Regions from separate parts of the Homo sapiens genome. Here region 2 is linked to region 1. Evidence: promoter capture Hi-C in 16 types of primary human blood cells and fetal thymus (Javierre and others, 2016). All regions are on one chromosome and are shown on one strand. Each heading gives the region's core, a stretch centred on a gene start or on the middle of the fragment in contact. The rest is flanking DNA. Distances are from core to core; before and after follow the strand shown. Region 1 holds the start of PRRC2B (proline rich coiled-coil 2B). Region 2 overlaps NUP214 (nucleoporin 214).

Evidence for each region. The method cuts DNA at HindIII sites, captures the fragments that hold promoters and counts their contacts. A CHiCAGO score of 5 or more calls a contact.
Region 2: a contact is called between a fragment that was not itself captured here and the fragment with the promoter of PRRC2B in region 1, in 1 of 17 cell types (naive CD8 T cells). The highest score is 5.3, in naive CD8 T cells.

What each region holds. Positions count from the first base shown.
Region 1 is chr9:131,391,081-131,398,823 of GRCh38, forward strand. PRRC2B (proline rich coiled-coil 2B) reads left to right here and starts at 3,006. Exons shown (of 32, transcript NM_013318.4): 1 at 3,006-3,183. RefSeq lists enhancers at 2,230-2,379, 3,506-4,267, 5,030-5,791, 7,409-7,488 and silencers at 2,850-3,039, 3,070-3,179, 3,410-3,699. The HindIII fragment of the contact is 10,669 bases long and covers 1,966-7,743 here.
Region 2 is chr9:131,170,177-131,177,919 of GRCh38, forward strand. It overlaps NUP214 (nucleoporin 214), which reads left to right. Exons shown (of 36, transcript NM_005085.4): 22 at 3,879-4,142; 23 at 5,284-5,445. Among named protein-coding and RNA genes, the nearest start is that of NUP214, 48 kb to the left of the region's middle. The HindIII fragment of the contact is 2,659 bases long and covers 3,486-6,144 here.

The sequences.
Region 1 (7,743 bases), core at 1,756-4,255:
GGCCCTAGCTTGCCTTTTAACCCTTCCCTCGCTGTGTTGCCTTCAGCAAGTCTCCAAGGTTGTACTAGTTTTCTATTGCTACATTACCACACATTTAGTGGCTTATGTAACTTTGTTATCTTAAAGTTCTGGAGGTCACGGTGGTTGGCAGGGCTCATTTTCTTCTGGAGGCTTTAGGGGAGAATCCATTCCTTGTCCTTTGTAGCTTCTAGAGGCAGCCTGCATTTCTGGGCGTGAGGTCCTGCGTCATTCCTTTGTCAGTCAATATGATGAACTCCGCTTCATCAACCACATCTTCTCCGACTCCGACCCTCCTTCCTTCCTCTTGTGAGGACCCTTGTGATTCCACCTGCCCAACCAAATAATCCAGGATTCATCTCTGCATCTCAAGATCCTTAACTTCATCCCATCTACAGAATCCCTTTTGCCAGAGAAGGTACCATTTTCACAGATTTCAGGGATCAGGACTTGGACATCTTTGGTGGGGGGCATTGTATTGCCTCCACAAAGTCTACTTTTCTTCTCTGTTGGATGGGCACACTAGTGTCTGTTTTATGGGTATGTCGTGAGGATTACCTGAGTGACTCTATAGGGAGTGTTTAGCACAGTGGCTGTCACATAGTAAGTGCTCAGTAAACCACCCTGTTACTGTTCAGCCTCCTCCTATCATTTTGTTTTGAGACAGAGTCTCTCTCTGTTGCCCAGGCTGGAGTGAAGTGGCGTGCTCTTGGCTCACTGCAACCTCCACCTCCTGGGTTCAAGTGATTCTTGTGCCTCAGCCTCCCGAGTAGCTGGGATTACAGGACCCCACCACCATGCCCGGCTAATTTTTGTATTTTTAGTAGAGACGGGGTTTCACCATGTTGGCCAGACTGGTCTCAAACTCCTGACCTCAGGTGATCTGCCTGCCTCGGCCTCCCAAAGTGGTGGGATTACAGGGGTGAGCCACCACGCTTGGCCTTACAAATAAAGAATCTGAGGCTTCAGATAGTTTATTTCTTTTTTGCTTGTTTATTTTCTTTCTTTTTTTTTTTTTGAGATGGAGTCTCACTCTGTCACCCAGGCTGGAGTGCAGTGGCATGATCTCGGCTCAGTGCAACCTCCGCCACCCGGGTTTGAGCAATTCTTCTGCCTCAGCCTCCCAAGTAGCTGGGATTACAGGCGACTGCCACCATGCCTGGCTAATTTTTGTATTTTTAGTAGAGATGGGGTTTCACCATATTGGTCAGGCTGGTCTTGAACTCCTGACCGCATGATCCACCTGCCTCGACCTACCAAAGTGGTGGGATTACAGGTGTTAGCCACTGCGCCAGCCTTACAGATGAAGAACCTGAGGCTCAGTTTATTTATTTAATTTATTTTTTATTTGTTTATTTGCCTTCTATCATTTTTATTAGTTGCTGGGTTTTGAGCACTGGGCCAATTCTATGGCCTTCCTGAAGATGGTCAAGGAACAAAATCGAAAACAAAAATTAGGGTTACATCCTCCCTGTTTTGTAGAGATAGCGAAATATTGAAGACATTGGCAGGGGAATAATGCAGATTTGATGATGTAAAACAGAGTGGCCGGCACTGTAATCCCAACACTTTGGGAGGCCAAGGTAGGTGGATCACTTTAGCGCAGGAGTTCCAGACCAACTTGGCCAACATGGTGAAATCCCATCTCTACCAAAAATACAAAAATTAGCTGGGCATGGTGGCAGATGTCTGTAATCCCAGCTACTCAGGAGGCTGGGGCAGGAGAATCGCTTGAATCTAGGAGTTGGAGGTTGCAGTGAGCAGAGATTGCGGATTGTGCCACTGCACTCCAGCCTGGGGGACAGAGCGAGACTGTCTCAAAAAAAAAAAAAAAGAAAAAAGAAAAAAAGGATAACACTGAAAATGACCATGGATAAAATGTAGGAAAATTCAGAGAATTATAAATAAGGCTATAAAAGTATCCAGAATTCTACTCCCCAAAAACTAAGCTTTGTTCACCAGCCTCAGTTCTGGAGTTAGGCTGAAGTGGGTTAATTTTCCTTCTGGGTCCAGCAGTGTGGCCTGGGGCACATTCTCTCAAAGCCTCCTTTGTCTCACCTGTGAATTAGAACAATAATATCTGCCCCTGGGTTAGGATTAAGTGAGACAAACCACGTGCTTTAGCATAGGGCATGGCCCGCAGCTGGTGCTTAGAGCAACCGTGACTGGAAGAGGGTGGGATGATTTGGGTGCCAGGCCCTAACATTTTTTTTTTGTATTTGCTTTTTGAAATTGCTTTTATAGTTGGTTAGGTGTCTAAAAAAGTAAGAACCCTCCTCCGCTCTCCCAACCTCAAACCACGGAGGTAACCAAGACAGGAGTGCAGTCTCCCGGACCTTTTGTTTTGCAATCACACAAACACACAACACTCAAGAGGAGGGGCTTATTAGTTTTCATTTTGTAAAAATGGGACAAAGTACCCATATTGTGCAACAACCTTGCTTTTGAAATGAAAAAAGTATTATTTCTGCTTCCTTTCCGTTCATATACCGTATACATATTTTAACAAAATCCGGGCTTAGTCTGTTCTGAGGCGCTGCAGTTTTGAAGGGGGAGGGGGCGGAGATCCGGGCTCGCTCCCCCGTCACTGCCCCCTCCATCCCTTCCCCCTCTTTCCGGGCGCCCTTCCCCCGGGCCCAGGCCGGGCCCATGCCCTTCCCAGGCCCCTTCTCTTGGCTCCTGGCCCCTCCTCCGGGTCTCCTCCCCGATCCCCGCTCTGCCCCGTTCTCTCCCGCCTCTCCCGCCGTCCCCGGGCCCCTCCCCACTCCCAGCCCCCTCCCAGCCCCCTCCCGCCGCTCCCCGCCCCTCCCCCCTGGCCCCAGCCCTCGCCCGGCCCCCGGGCCGATCCCAAGGCCGCCGCTCCCGGGAGGCGCGGCAGGGGGCGCTGCGCGGGCCCAGGTTGCGGGCGGCGGCGGGAGGAGGAGGACGAGGAGGCGGGGGCGGCGGCAGGCGGGGGGCGGGGAGCCGAGCGCGAGGGAGCGAGCGGCGAGACAGGCGCCGAGGCTCCACCGCGCAGCGACGAGCGAGCCCGGGAGGAGGGAGGGAGCGAGCGAGCGAGCAGCCCGCGCCGCCGCCTCGCAATCCGCCGCCATCCCGCCGCCCCCGTGCCCGACCGCCGCCCGACTGCCATCGCCCGGCCCGGCCGCGCCCGCGGAACCAGACCAGGTGGGTCGGGGCCGGGGCCGGGGCCGGGGCGTGGGGGCGGCGGCGCTAAGATGGAGGCGGCGCGGCCCGGCCGGGCTTTGTCTCCCGCGGCCGCCGCCGGGGGCCCGGGGGCCCTGCGGCCCTGCCCGACCTTTGTCCGCGAGCGCGGCCGCCGCCGCCTCCTTCCCGCCGGGCGCGGGGCTGCGGGGCTGGGAGGCCGCGGGGCCTGGGGGCGGCGGGCCCGGGCGCGCTCGCCATTGTTGTGGCGGCGCCGCGCGGCCTCAGGCTCGGGCGGGGTCCAGGGGCCGCGCGACTCCCTCAGGGCTCGCCCGCCACCCCCGTACCCCCGAGGCCGGGCCGGGCTGCAGAGGCCGGAGGGGCGGGGGTCCCGGGCCCGCAGCCGGGTCTCGGGGTTCTGGGGCCGGCGTCTTTGCTCCCCGCCCCGCCCAATTGACGGAGCAGCGCGCCCGAGGCGGGATCCTGCGGGGTCGGGCCTTGGGTCCGGGGCGCTGAGCGGCGTTCGCGGGGCCGTTCCTGGCGCGGGGTGGGCCGGGCCCCGGCGGCGCTAAAGTTGGCGGCTGGGGGAGGGAGGCGAGCGGCCGCCCAGTCTCGGTGTGAGTGCGGGAACCAGAGGGTTATTTTCGAAATGCTGAATGCTCCATGCTAAAAATGTTTAATAATAAACAGGATGTCGCCACTCGGGGCCTGCCAGATGGGGTTTTTTTTTTTTTCCTCCTCTTTTGCCTCCCCTCAACCCCCAGGAGAGAAATTCAGCCCTGTTGAAACTGTGGGCCTCTGAAGAGTGGATTTGCCTTAAGAGGTGGATTTTTTTCCTTTTTCTTTTTTCCTCCTTCTAAATATCGTGGGAGGTCGGAGCCCACCTTTAGGCAAGAATTGGAGGTGTTTTCAGTGGTGAGCTTGAAGGAAGTGGGAGAAGGGGGGCTGGGGAGTGTCTTTTGCTAAATGGCTTCCTGGGAGAAATCTTTAAATGCCTTTGGTTTACAGGACTGTTAAACTTTCCCTAAGATTTTTTTTTTCTTTAAGGTTTAGTGTGCATTTGATGTGGCTTTGTACAGTGTCATCCAGTTTGGTTTTTGTAACCAATTGTGTGCGGTCTTAGCATGGTTTTTCCGAATCTCGCTGCAGCCATTTAGTCATGTCTATGCACAGCGCTGTGGTGTAAGGTGGGACTGGGGAGGCCCAGGCATTGGGGTGCAGATCCTGCTTCTTTCTTCCGTAAACCTAGTGACTCTGGGGCTGTCTGAGGCTTCATCTGCATAAATCGGGGCGTGCACCCTCCACCTGGCAGGTTTGGGCAGCGGTGAAGGGCCTAGCAGAGGGCCTGGCACAGTTAGTGGTTCCTCCTACGGTTGTTGGTATAACTGCTGTCAAGTCCTAGGACAGACGTGAGCCCCTTGTGGTGCCACCCATAGAGCCAAACTGTGCCCATGGATGCCACAGGTGCTGGCCTAAGGCATGGACAATACAGAAGGAATTCAAGGCCCAAACATTAGTGGGCGCTTATACAGTGCTGAGCCTCTCGGGAGGCAGGGATGGGAAAAAGTAGCATTTGGAGGTCTCTAGAACTTAGTAGACCCGGAGTGTGTGGCAGTTGGTCAGTTTAAGGCAGGGTTAGAACAGTACGAGATGCTCAGGACAAACAGACGCCCAAGGAGTCCTGCCTTCTGAGGATAACTGCTTTCCTTGGGGATTGGCAGATAATCATCTGAGAGTGAGTTTCTACTTGTTTGGGCAAGTGTGTCTCTTGGAGCCTGCGCAGCTGGATTCTGGTCCTCATCGGGTTACCTTTACAAAGCAAGTCTCTGAGGCTCAGATCTTGCATCTGTAAAATGGGAATAATTATGCCTGCCTTGGGTATCTATTAGGGCTCTTGGGAGCCTCACTTAAGATTCACAGTGAATTGTTTTCTCTCCATAGGAAGGTGATGAAATGTATGTGTTTGTTGATTATCTGTTTTTCTGGTTCCTTTCTCCTTCCTTCCTCCCTTGCCCTCTTCCTCTCTCCCTCCCTCCCTTTCCCTTCCTTTTCCTTCCTTCCCTTCCTTCTTTTTTCTTTTCTTTTCTTTTTTTTTTTTTTTTTTTTGAGACAGTCTCACTCTGTCGCCCAGGCTGGAGTGCAGTGATGTGATCTCAGCTCACTGCAACCTCCGCCTCCTGGGTTCAAGCGATTCTCGTGCCTCAGCCTCTGGAGTAGCTGGGATTACAGGCATGTGCCACCACACCTGGCCAATTTTTGTGTTTTTAGTAGAGACAGGGTTTCACCATGTTGGCCAGGCTAGTCTCAGACATCCGACTTCAGGTGATTTGCCTGCCTTGGCCTCCCAAAGTGCTGGGATTACAGGCCTGAGCTACCGCGCCCGGTCTTCTTTCTCTTAATGCTTATTTTTTCCTCTTCTCTTGGTTGATGGAACTGTGACTTCCCCACCCCAAATTCTATGGCCGGCTAATGTTTTGCTATGGTGACTATCACCCATCTACCTGGAAGCACCAGAATGGCTTAGTACAGCTAGGGAGCTCAGCCAGATCTCGGTGTCTGCTGTTTGAGATTGTGTGGAAGGACTATTGCTAAGAAGCAGGAGACAGACTGAACCCAGTGTTGGCCACAAGTGAGGACTGAGACCCAGGTCACCTCTTGGCTGAACATGTTAGCTTGTTGGTAAATGGCTCTGCAGTGGTTCTGCATTTTATTGGGGAATTTGTTTTGGTTCATTTTGGCATTCCCGCAACCATCTTGTTGGTTTTTTGGTAAAATGTGGCACCCCCTCCAGACCTCCTAGCTGTGGAACTGAGATATTTTAGCAGGGTCCTGTCATCCTTTGATTTTTCCTCGCTTCCTGCCTCTTGGCCCTTCCTTTTTGTCTGACTTCACTCGGGCCCAGTCTGGCTCTATACTGTTAACTGGTTAGTTAGGCCAGGAGATAGTCGCTGCCTCTCCCATGAGCTTCTGCATACCTGTGAATTTTGGTTATCTGTGGCCCCCTAATGCTGATTGCATGCCCTTGCCTTAGGCCCTAAGCCCACTGTGTGGGCGTCCCATCTCGTACAGTGGCCGTCTCCAGCCTCCACTGGGCCCAAATAGGTAAAAAGAAAGCCTGGGGAAGGAAGAGCCAGGAAACCTCGGGAGAGTGGAATTTCAGGAATGGCAGGTCAGAACTGGTTCCAGCATGGGTCCCTTTGCCTTGTGCTTAGCTGAGGGATTTTTGTTATTAATTTTTTTTTTCCTGTTCAACACTCCTAACCTCTTTTGAATTTCAGTTCTCTTTTTTTATCCTGAAGGATTATTTTATTGTACTTTTGAGGGTTTTTTTTTTTTTTTTTTTTTGCCTTGCACAAAGTACTGACTCATGTTGCTAATGGCTGTGGCTGTATGCTAGTTATATGTCTCATTATCCTACCCCTTAAGATTGATCATTTCTGTGTTGGTTTCTATTTCAAACCAGAATAGGCCAGGTGGGTCAATTCATGTATTTCTGAATTCAATAATGAGGCTTCCCTACCGTGAAATGTACATATCTTGTCATGGGCGGACAGGTACTAAATAGAGCCTATCTATACTAGATTTTAAAACAATGGATTTCTCCCCAAAAAACAACATTTCCAGCAGACAATGGGCTTTGTGCTCCAAATCTTGTAATTTTGGTTTTAAATAAATTTCATGTAAGGAGGCAGGGCTAACTAGACTGTCTTCTTTTCAGATCATAACTTGATCTCTTTTTAAGATTATTTCTGGGACTTGTACAGCCTCAGGAAACTTGGGTCTGTCATTGGGACAAAGAAATACAGGCACTGGCTGTGGTGTTGGAGATGGGAGCGACATGGGATATGGTGAGCTTTGTTTCTGGTGAAATAGAATTGTTTGTCATTAGCTTTAGGTTTAAAAGGTGCCATTCAGACTGGACCTCCTCACCTGGGAGCTGGCAGACCTGGGCCTTGCCATTGGCGATATTACTGTTTATACCTCTGGGTGGCACGTGGGAAATCTCTTTTGTGCTGGGAGGTAGGTTTGTCTTAGTGTCTTGAGCCAGAAGTTGTGGTTGAGCTTTGTTCTCAGCTGTACTTGTTGGTTTTCTGTGTGACCTGAGAAGCATCCTTCGTCCGAGCTGAAGTGCACCTCCGAGGTGCTGGCAGCAGCACTGATTTGTGAAGCATTGCGTGCAGCAGGAGTAGCTGGCAGAACAAAGCCTATCTCAAGTTGCTGGCGGTCTTTCACATCTTGTACAGGACTTCCTTCCGTTCTTACCTCTGCAGCCAGTTGTGTGGCTTCCGTCTGGACCGTCTTCCTCCTTTCCAAGATAACCATCAGTCTTTTTCTCTGTGGGGCTGCAGCAGCAGTATTTATTGCATTTTTAATTGACTTGTCAGGCAATAGATACTCCTTGAGCACCTATCATTTGCCAGGCATTGTACAAGGCCCTTTAAATACATTTTTCTTGTGGTAGGGCAAGGTGGCTCATGCCTGTAATCCCAGTACTTGGGGAGGCCAAGGCAGGTGGATTGCTTGAGGCCAGGTTAAGACCAGCCTGGGCAATGTGATGAAAATAAAAAAATGCCTCTTAAAAGA
Region 2 (7,743 bases), core at 3,565-6,064, 220 kb before region 1:
CACAATAAAAAAATAAATAAATAAAAAAGAAGGGAGGCAGGAGAATCGCTTGAACCCGGGAGGCAGAGGTCGCAGTGAGCCGAGATCATGCCGTTGCACTCCAGCTTGGGCAACAAGAGCGAAACTCCGTCTTTAAAAAAAGAAAGTTTTGGGGGAGGAATTTTGCCTTCCTCAGCCTTCAAAGGAAAGTTGAGATTTTGATTGGAATTGTATTGAGTCTCTAGATCAACTTGAGAATTGACATTTGTGCAGTAGTGAACTCTCAGTTCCTGAACTGGGTACATATTTGTATATTTGGGTGTTCTTTAATTTCTCTTAATGTTTTCTGCGTGGGAGACATGCACATCTTTTGTTAGATTAATTGCTAAAAATTTAATTGCAAAAATTTGTTGCTCTTATAATGGTAGATTTTTTTTCCTTAAATTTTATGGTTTATGTTGGATGTAGTATCGAGAAATACCATTGATTTATGTGTATTTACTTACAGCCAACAACCTGGCAGAATTCATTTATTCTAACACGTCTGTAGCTGTTTCTTGGCCTTGTAACTATGGAAACAATGAAATCCTCCATGGATACTAATGGTGACGTTTCTGCCTTTCCAGTCCTTTTGTTATTATTATTATCATTATTATTATTATTATTATTTTACCTTACTTCACTGGCTAGAACCTCCAGTGCAGCGTAAAAGTGTCGTGTAGCTCTCCTTGATCTCAAAAGGAGCACTTTCTATAGTTCATCCTAAGATGTGAGGTTTGCTGCATCTACTGAGATGATCATATGACTTTCTATCCTTTTGTCTCCCCACCCTCCCTGCCCTCAGTCATGTAGCTTTCTACCTTTCCTTATCTGACGTAGAGTGTAAACAGAATAAGATTCTTTAAATTTCAGTGGGACGCTCTTTCTAATGCCAGGCAGTTAGCTGCATCCTTGATCACAGCAGAGAGCAGCACCCATTAATGGTGGAGGCAGCACCATTGGCATAGTGAGCAGTCCATGCCCCATGCTTCTGTGAGTGAGCATGCCCATTGCATCTTTCAGTTGATGGGGTTCCTCCACCGAAGGCAGGTAAATTGCCTCAGAAAGGTGAAGGAAGGAACTAAGAGTACCTTCATGTTACATAGGACCTTGGAGGTTACATAGTTATTCCAGTGTCTCTTTCTGTCTAGTTCTTGAAGGTGATGTGATTATTTGAGTCATCTTTTATTGTTACTATCAGGAACTACAATAGGATTTTGGAGAAATTATGGAGAGAAATTTGGCCCCAAGAAAACATGGGTTTGTATTAGTTTCCTATGGATGCCGTAACAAATTATCACAAACCTAGCGGCTTAAAACAGTACCTAGTTGTTATCTCACAGGAAGATTTTCTTTTTTTTTTTTTTTTTTGTTATACTTTAAGTTTTAGGGTACATGTGCACAATGTGCAGGTTAGTTACATATGTATACATGTGCCATGCTGGTGTGCTGCACCCATTAACTTTTCATTTAGCCTTAGGTATATCTCCTAATGCTATCCCTCCCTCCTCCCCGCACCCCACAACAGTCCCCAGAGTGTGATATTCCCCTTCCTGTGTCCATGTGTTCTCATTGTTCAATTCCCACCTGTGAGTGAGAACATGCGGTGTTTGGTTTTTTGTCCTTGCAATATTTTACTGAGAATGATGATTTCCAATTTCATCCATGTCCCTACAAAGGACATGAACTCATCATTTTTTATGGCTGCATAGTATTCCATGATGTATATGTGCCACATTTTCTTAAACCAGTCTATCATTGTTGGACATTTGGGTTGGTTCCAAGTCTTTGCTATTGTGAATAGTGCCGCAATAAACATACGTATGCATGTGTCTTTATAGCAGCATGATTTATAGTCCTTTGGGTATATACCCAGTAATGGGATGGCTGGGTCAAATGGTATTTCTAGTTCTAGATCCCTGAGGAATCGCCACACTGACTTCCACAATGGTTGAACTAGTTTACAGTCCCACCAACAGTGTAAAAGTGTTCCTATTTCTCCACATCCTCTCCAGCACCTGTTGTTTCCTGACTTTTTAATGATTGCCATTCTAACTGGCGTGAGATGGTATCTCATTGTGGTTTTGATTTGCATTTCTCTGATGGCCAGTGATGGTGAGCATTTTGTCATGTGTTTTTTGGCTGCATAAATGTCTTCTTTTGAGAAGTGTCTGTTCATGTCCTTCACCCACTTTTGGATGGGGTTGTTTGTTTTTTCCTTGTAAATTTGTTTGAGTTCATTGTAGATTCTGGATATTAGCCCTTTGTCAGATGAGTAGGTTGTGAAAATTTTCTCCCATTTTGTAGGTTGCCTGTTCACTCTGATGGTAGTTTCTTTTGCTGTCTCACAGGAAGATTTTCTGTGATGATGGAAATGTTCTGTATCTTTGTTGTCCAACAGGGTAGCTACTAGCCACATGTGGCTGTAGAGGACATGAAATGTGGATAGTGCAATCGAGGAATTGATTTTTCATTAATTTGCTTTTGATTACTTTAAATTTAAATAACCACATATGGCTACTGGCTACCAAATTGGCTAAGACAGCCGTAGCACATAGCATTGGTTTTTAGTGGCATTTGTTTATGTTATACTTACATTATGACAATAAAATCTTGCAGAGCCATGTGCACATGGGACACAAAAGTCAATAAATATTTGCAGAGCCATTTTAAATAACTTGGGGAGGGAAGAAAAAGGGCTAGATTATTTTGTTTGGTTTTTGTTTTTTCCAATATACAGGAAGTATTCACTTGCATTCTGAAATTTATGATAGAAAGTTAACATGACATAAAGCCTTACTCTTCGTAGTCTAAACAGAAGGCCGGGATTCAGTTCAATTCAATTCTATTTTCTCTTTTGGGTTTTTCTTGTTGTTATTTGAGAAGGAGTCTCACTCTGTTGCCCAGGCTGCAGTGCAATGGTGCAATCTGGGCTCACTGCAACCTCCACCTGCCGGGTTCAAGCGATTCTCCTGCCTCAGCCTCCTGAGTAGCTGGGAGTACAGGTGTGCACCACCACGACTGGCTAATTTTTGTATTTTTTAGTAGAGATGGGGTTTCACCATATTTGCCAGGCTGGTCTTGAACTCCTGTCCTGGTGATCTGCCCGCCTCAGCCTCCCAAAGTGCTGGGATTACAGGCTTGAGCCACTGCACCCAGCCTTTTTTTTTTTTTTTTTTTTTTTTGAGACAGAGTTTCACTCTGTTACCCTATTTTTTGTAGAGACAGGGTCTCACTATGTTGCCTAAGCTGGTCTTGAACTCCTGGCTTCAAGCAGTCCTCCTGCCTCAATCTCCCAAAGTGCTGGGATTATAGGCCTGACCCACTGCACCCAGTCTCTTGTATTTTTTTTTTTTAAACCTAATTGTCTGAATCAGAAGAATCATTAGATTTATCTGGAAATGTTCGAGACACTCAGGACCGAGGACATTCTTTCTAATCCATTTTGCGTTGGACCTGTTCTTAGAAGCTTATCATTGGAAGGTGACAGTAATGGTGTGATTGTTCACCCCACCATGGAAACTTGCCTGTTACATTTCTAGTATATTATTATTATACTAGTGAGGGCTCCAGGCTTCTACTTTGACACCAGCATTAATTCTGTCTCTTACTTTTTCACATTCTTTTAACAGCCCCAAGATGTTCTCGTTCACACACCTCAGTTTCTCAAATCCCCATCTGAGCAAAGACCCAAAACCATTTTTGTTCACATTTGACAATACCTGCTCCCACTTAAAATAAGTAATAATTAAATCATTTTACAAGTTGAGTATTTTTTTTTTTTATCAACAGTGAAAATTACTTAGCTTTTGGGCTTGCTTTGAGTTGTCTAAATTGTGTTTTGTTTGGGGCTTTTGTAGCCAGCCTGTCTCGATCAGCCTTTCTGTCTCAGAGATATTATGAAGACTTGGATGAAGTCAGCTCAACGTCATCTGTCTCCCAGTCTCTGGAGAGTGAAGATGCACGGACGTCCTGTAAAGATGACGAGGCAGTGGTTCAGGCCCCTCGGCACGCCCCCGTGGTTCGCACTCCTTCCATCCAGCCCAGTCTCTTGCCCCATGCAGCACCTTTTGCTAAATCTCACCTGGTTCATGGTTCTTCACCTGGTGTGATGGGAACTTCAGGTAAGTAAACAGTGGGAAAGGAAACTGTTTTTCCCTATGATGTTTCTAACTAATGACGGAATTGTAACTGGGTCTTATACTGTCACACCAATATGGTGGTTGGCTCCAGCCCACTTTTTTTTTTTTTTCTTTTTTTCTTTTTTTTTTTGAGGTGGAGTCTCACTCTGTTGCCCAGGCTGGAGTGTAATGGCGCGATCTAGGCTCACTGCAACATCCACCTCCTGGGTTCAAATGATTCTCCTGCCTCACCCTCCCAAGTAGCTGGGATTACAGGCGTGCACCACCACGCCTGGCTAATTTTTGTATTTTTAGTGGAGACGGGGTTTCACCATGTTGTGTTGGCCAGGCTGGTCTCAAACTCCTGACCTCAGGTGATCCACCTGCCTTGGCCTCCCAGAGTGGTAGGATTACAGGCATGAGCCACTGCACCTGGCTGCTCAACTCACTTCTGCTTATATTCTAGAAATTAGAAGACTGATTGAAAAGATGTGTGTTCCCCTTGAAAGCAGTTGCTAGGCCATTGTGAGGAAGGAGATGGCTCTCCAAGTTTATGCGCTATAACAGTTTTTCTGCTGAGCCAGCTTGTTTTTTAAAACAGATCTTTTTCAGAAGTAAAAGGGGGCTGTTTGCTTCAGTTATAAAGCAACATCCACACTCATATCTTTTAAATCCTGGCTCATTTCAGCCTGACTTGTGGCATATTCTGCCTCAGAACTCACCAGCTCTGATGCTTGTGGTCAGTATTGGCTCACTGTACTGACAGGTGTTGTGCCCCCACACTTTCAGTACAGTGTCAGGGCTTTGCATCAAAGTGACTTCCAGCAGAGAAAAATACCAGTGTTAGGTACTAGAATGAAGAGAATTTGTGAGAGGGGATCAGGGAATTGGTCTATGTTGGTATAAAAGTTGTATCTCAATCAGTATCAGGAAATGATGATGTATCTTAGTAGAGGTGGGTAGGCAAATTTCATGCGATAACTGAAAGATATAGATGCCAGCCTGTTAGTTTACTGGTACTTTTCTATGTTAACGCTAATTTTAGCATTTTCCCTGCAGTCGAACATAAAGAATTTACCAATTTAACCTTTTGTATTTTCCTGTTCTCTCACCCACTCACACTTAATTTTTCTTTTCCTCTTAGTGGCTACATCTGCTAGCAAAATTATTCCTCAAGGGGCCGATAGCACAATGCTTGCCACGAAAACCGTGAAACATGGTGCACCTAGTCCTTCCCACCCCATCTCAGCCCCGCAGGCAGCTGCCGCAGCAGCACTCAGGCGGCAGATGGCCAGTCAGGCACCAGGTAAAAGCTGTAGCCCCATACCTGTACAGAGGCTGATTATGAGCTGTCTGAGTCACAGGCCAGGACAGCAGGTGGCAAGAAACAGTGGGCGCTCTTTGGTGCCCTTCAGAAGAGAAGATTGATGTGACAGCCCTCTCCCCTTTGTGGAGAGAGTTCTAAGAAAGCAGAGACTAGGTCTGAAAATCTTTGCTTTTAAGGGGAGGGATTAGAACTGCCACATTTAGTTAAGGTGGAAATCAGTGGGGTTTGTTTTTTTTTTTAAACAAAATTGCTAATCCTACTTTTGAATAATGTCTGCTTAGAGCCCTAAAATTATAACCTTTGAAATTCGATCATCGAATAACACTAGCGTCATCTCTTAGTATCTTACAGATTGCAGCTACCCCAAGAGGTAGGTATTTGAATGGCTATTTTGGCTGGGCATAGTGACTCATGCCTGTAATCCCAGCACTTTGGGAGGCTGAGGTGGGAGGATCACTTGAGGCCAGGAGTTTGAGACCACCCTAGGCAACATAGTGAGACCTCATCTCTAAAACAAAACAAACACAAACAAACAAAAAGAATGACCATTTTGTGTTTGAGTAATCTGAAGTTCAGAGAGGTGAAGGTTATCCCACCAATAAGTAGCAGAACCCAGACTCTAACCCTCTGCTCTTTTTCAGTTGAGCATTTTTTCTTCTCCAACTATATCTTGCATGAAGCTTTTTTTTTTTTTCTTTTGAGACAGGGTCTCACTGTGTTGCCTAGGCTGAAGGACACTGGTGCGATCACGGCTCGCTGCAGCCTCCGTGATCTCCCGAACCCAGGTGACCTTCCCACCTCAGCCTCCTGGATAGCTAGGACTACAGGCATGCACCACTACACCAGGCAAATATTTAAAAAATTTTTGTAGAGACAGGATTTCACCATGTTATCCAAGCTGGTCTCAAACTCCTGGGCTCAAGTGATCCACCCGCCTCTACCTCCCAAAGTGCTGGGATTATAGGCATGAGCCACTGCTCCTGACCAAAGCTTTTTTTTTAACATTGTAAAATTTAACTTTTACAGAAGGAAGCGCTAATAAGTCAGTTAGCACTTAACATTTCGTCAGTGGCTTGTCATTATCCCAAACTTTCTACTACTTTCTACGTTAATGTACATTGTACATTAGGATTTTACAGTCTGCGTAGTTGGTCTCAAGGACTTCAGTTATCACTAGTTATCAGTTTTATAAGCTAGTAGTTCTCAACTAGAGGCTGCCCCCACTTCCCTGTCCTCCACCCCTGAAACAGTTGGCAGTGTTGCTGGCATTTAGTGGGTAGAGGCCAGGAATGCTGCAAAAAAAAAATCTTTAAAATGCATAAGACACCCCCACAACAAAGGGTTATCTAGCCCCAAAATGTCAGTAGTGCCAGGGTCAAGAAACAGATATAAGCCAAATATTTTCATTTTAGCTGAGTAAAATTATTTTTTAGATGTATCACTGCTTACAACACTTATCAATTTAGAGTTTTTTTTAAAGACTAAAAAGACATAATAGTTTGATTTAGGAAAAAAGAACTAACATTAAACAGTGATAAGTCAAAAGATTGTAAAGAAAAATTCAAATATTAAAACCTTTATTAAGACATCTAACATATATATTGAAGAACAAAACAAAGATAACTTTTGAGGTACCTTTGGGCTTTCTAAAAATAGAATTCTTTGATCTCTTTAAATATTACTTGGACCAGGTAGAATCTTGCCATTGTGCTGAACAGGCCTGAAATCAAGTTGATCAAGTCAATGATCTGTAAAACGTTAAAATCTATTAGGATTGAGGATTGTTCCACTCAGCAGAAGGTGGTGTGATCTGTATTATCATGTTGGATGCAAAAATTTCTAAGGTATAGGCACCTTTGAATATGAAATATGAAAGATGTGCAGTCGTGGGCAAGATGTTCTGGTCACTTCTTTGAAAGAGGGAATAAAAGAGAATTAACTACAGGTCTGTCATTCTGCTTGTGATAACCACTTTCACCTTGGCCAGTGATGCAGTTAGTAATGAGCCACAAGCTTTGCTCAGGCTTCCTTAATTGCTAATTATAGAATGTCATTAAGTCTTTTGGGATACAATTTACAATTATAAGACGAAAGCTGATGAGGAGGTGTCAGATATATGCCTCTTAGTCTCTTCTCCCATTATTGTCCAAGCTCCATTTTCCACATTTTATTCATTATGCCTTTCTGTCTCACTAGGCCATGAGTTTCTTTAGAGAAGAAACTATAGATACATTTTGTATTCGCAGCCCCTAACACAGAGCCTGGCACATAATAAGC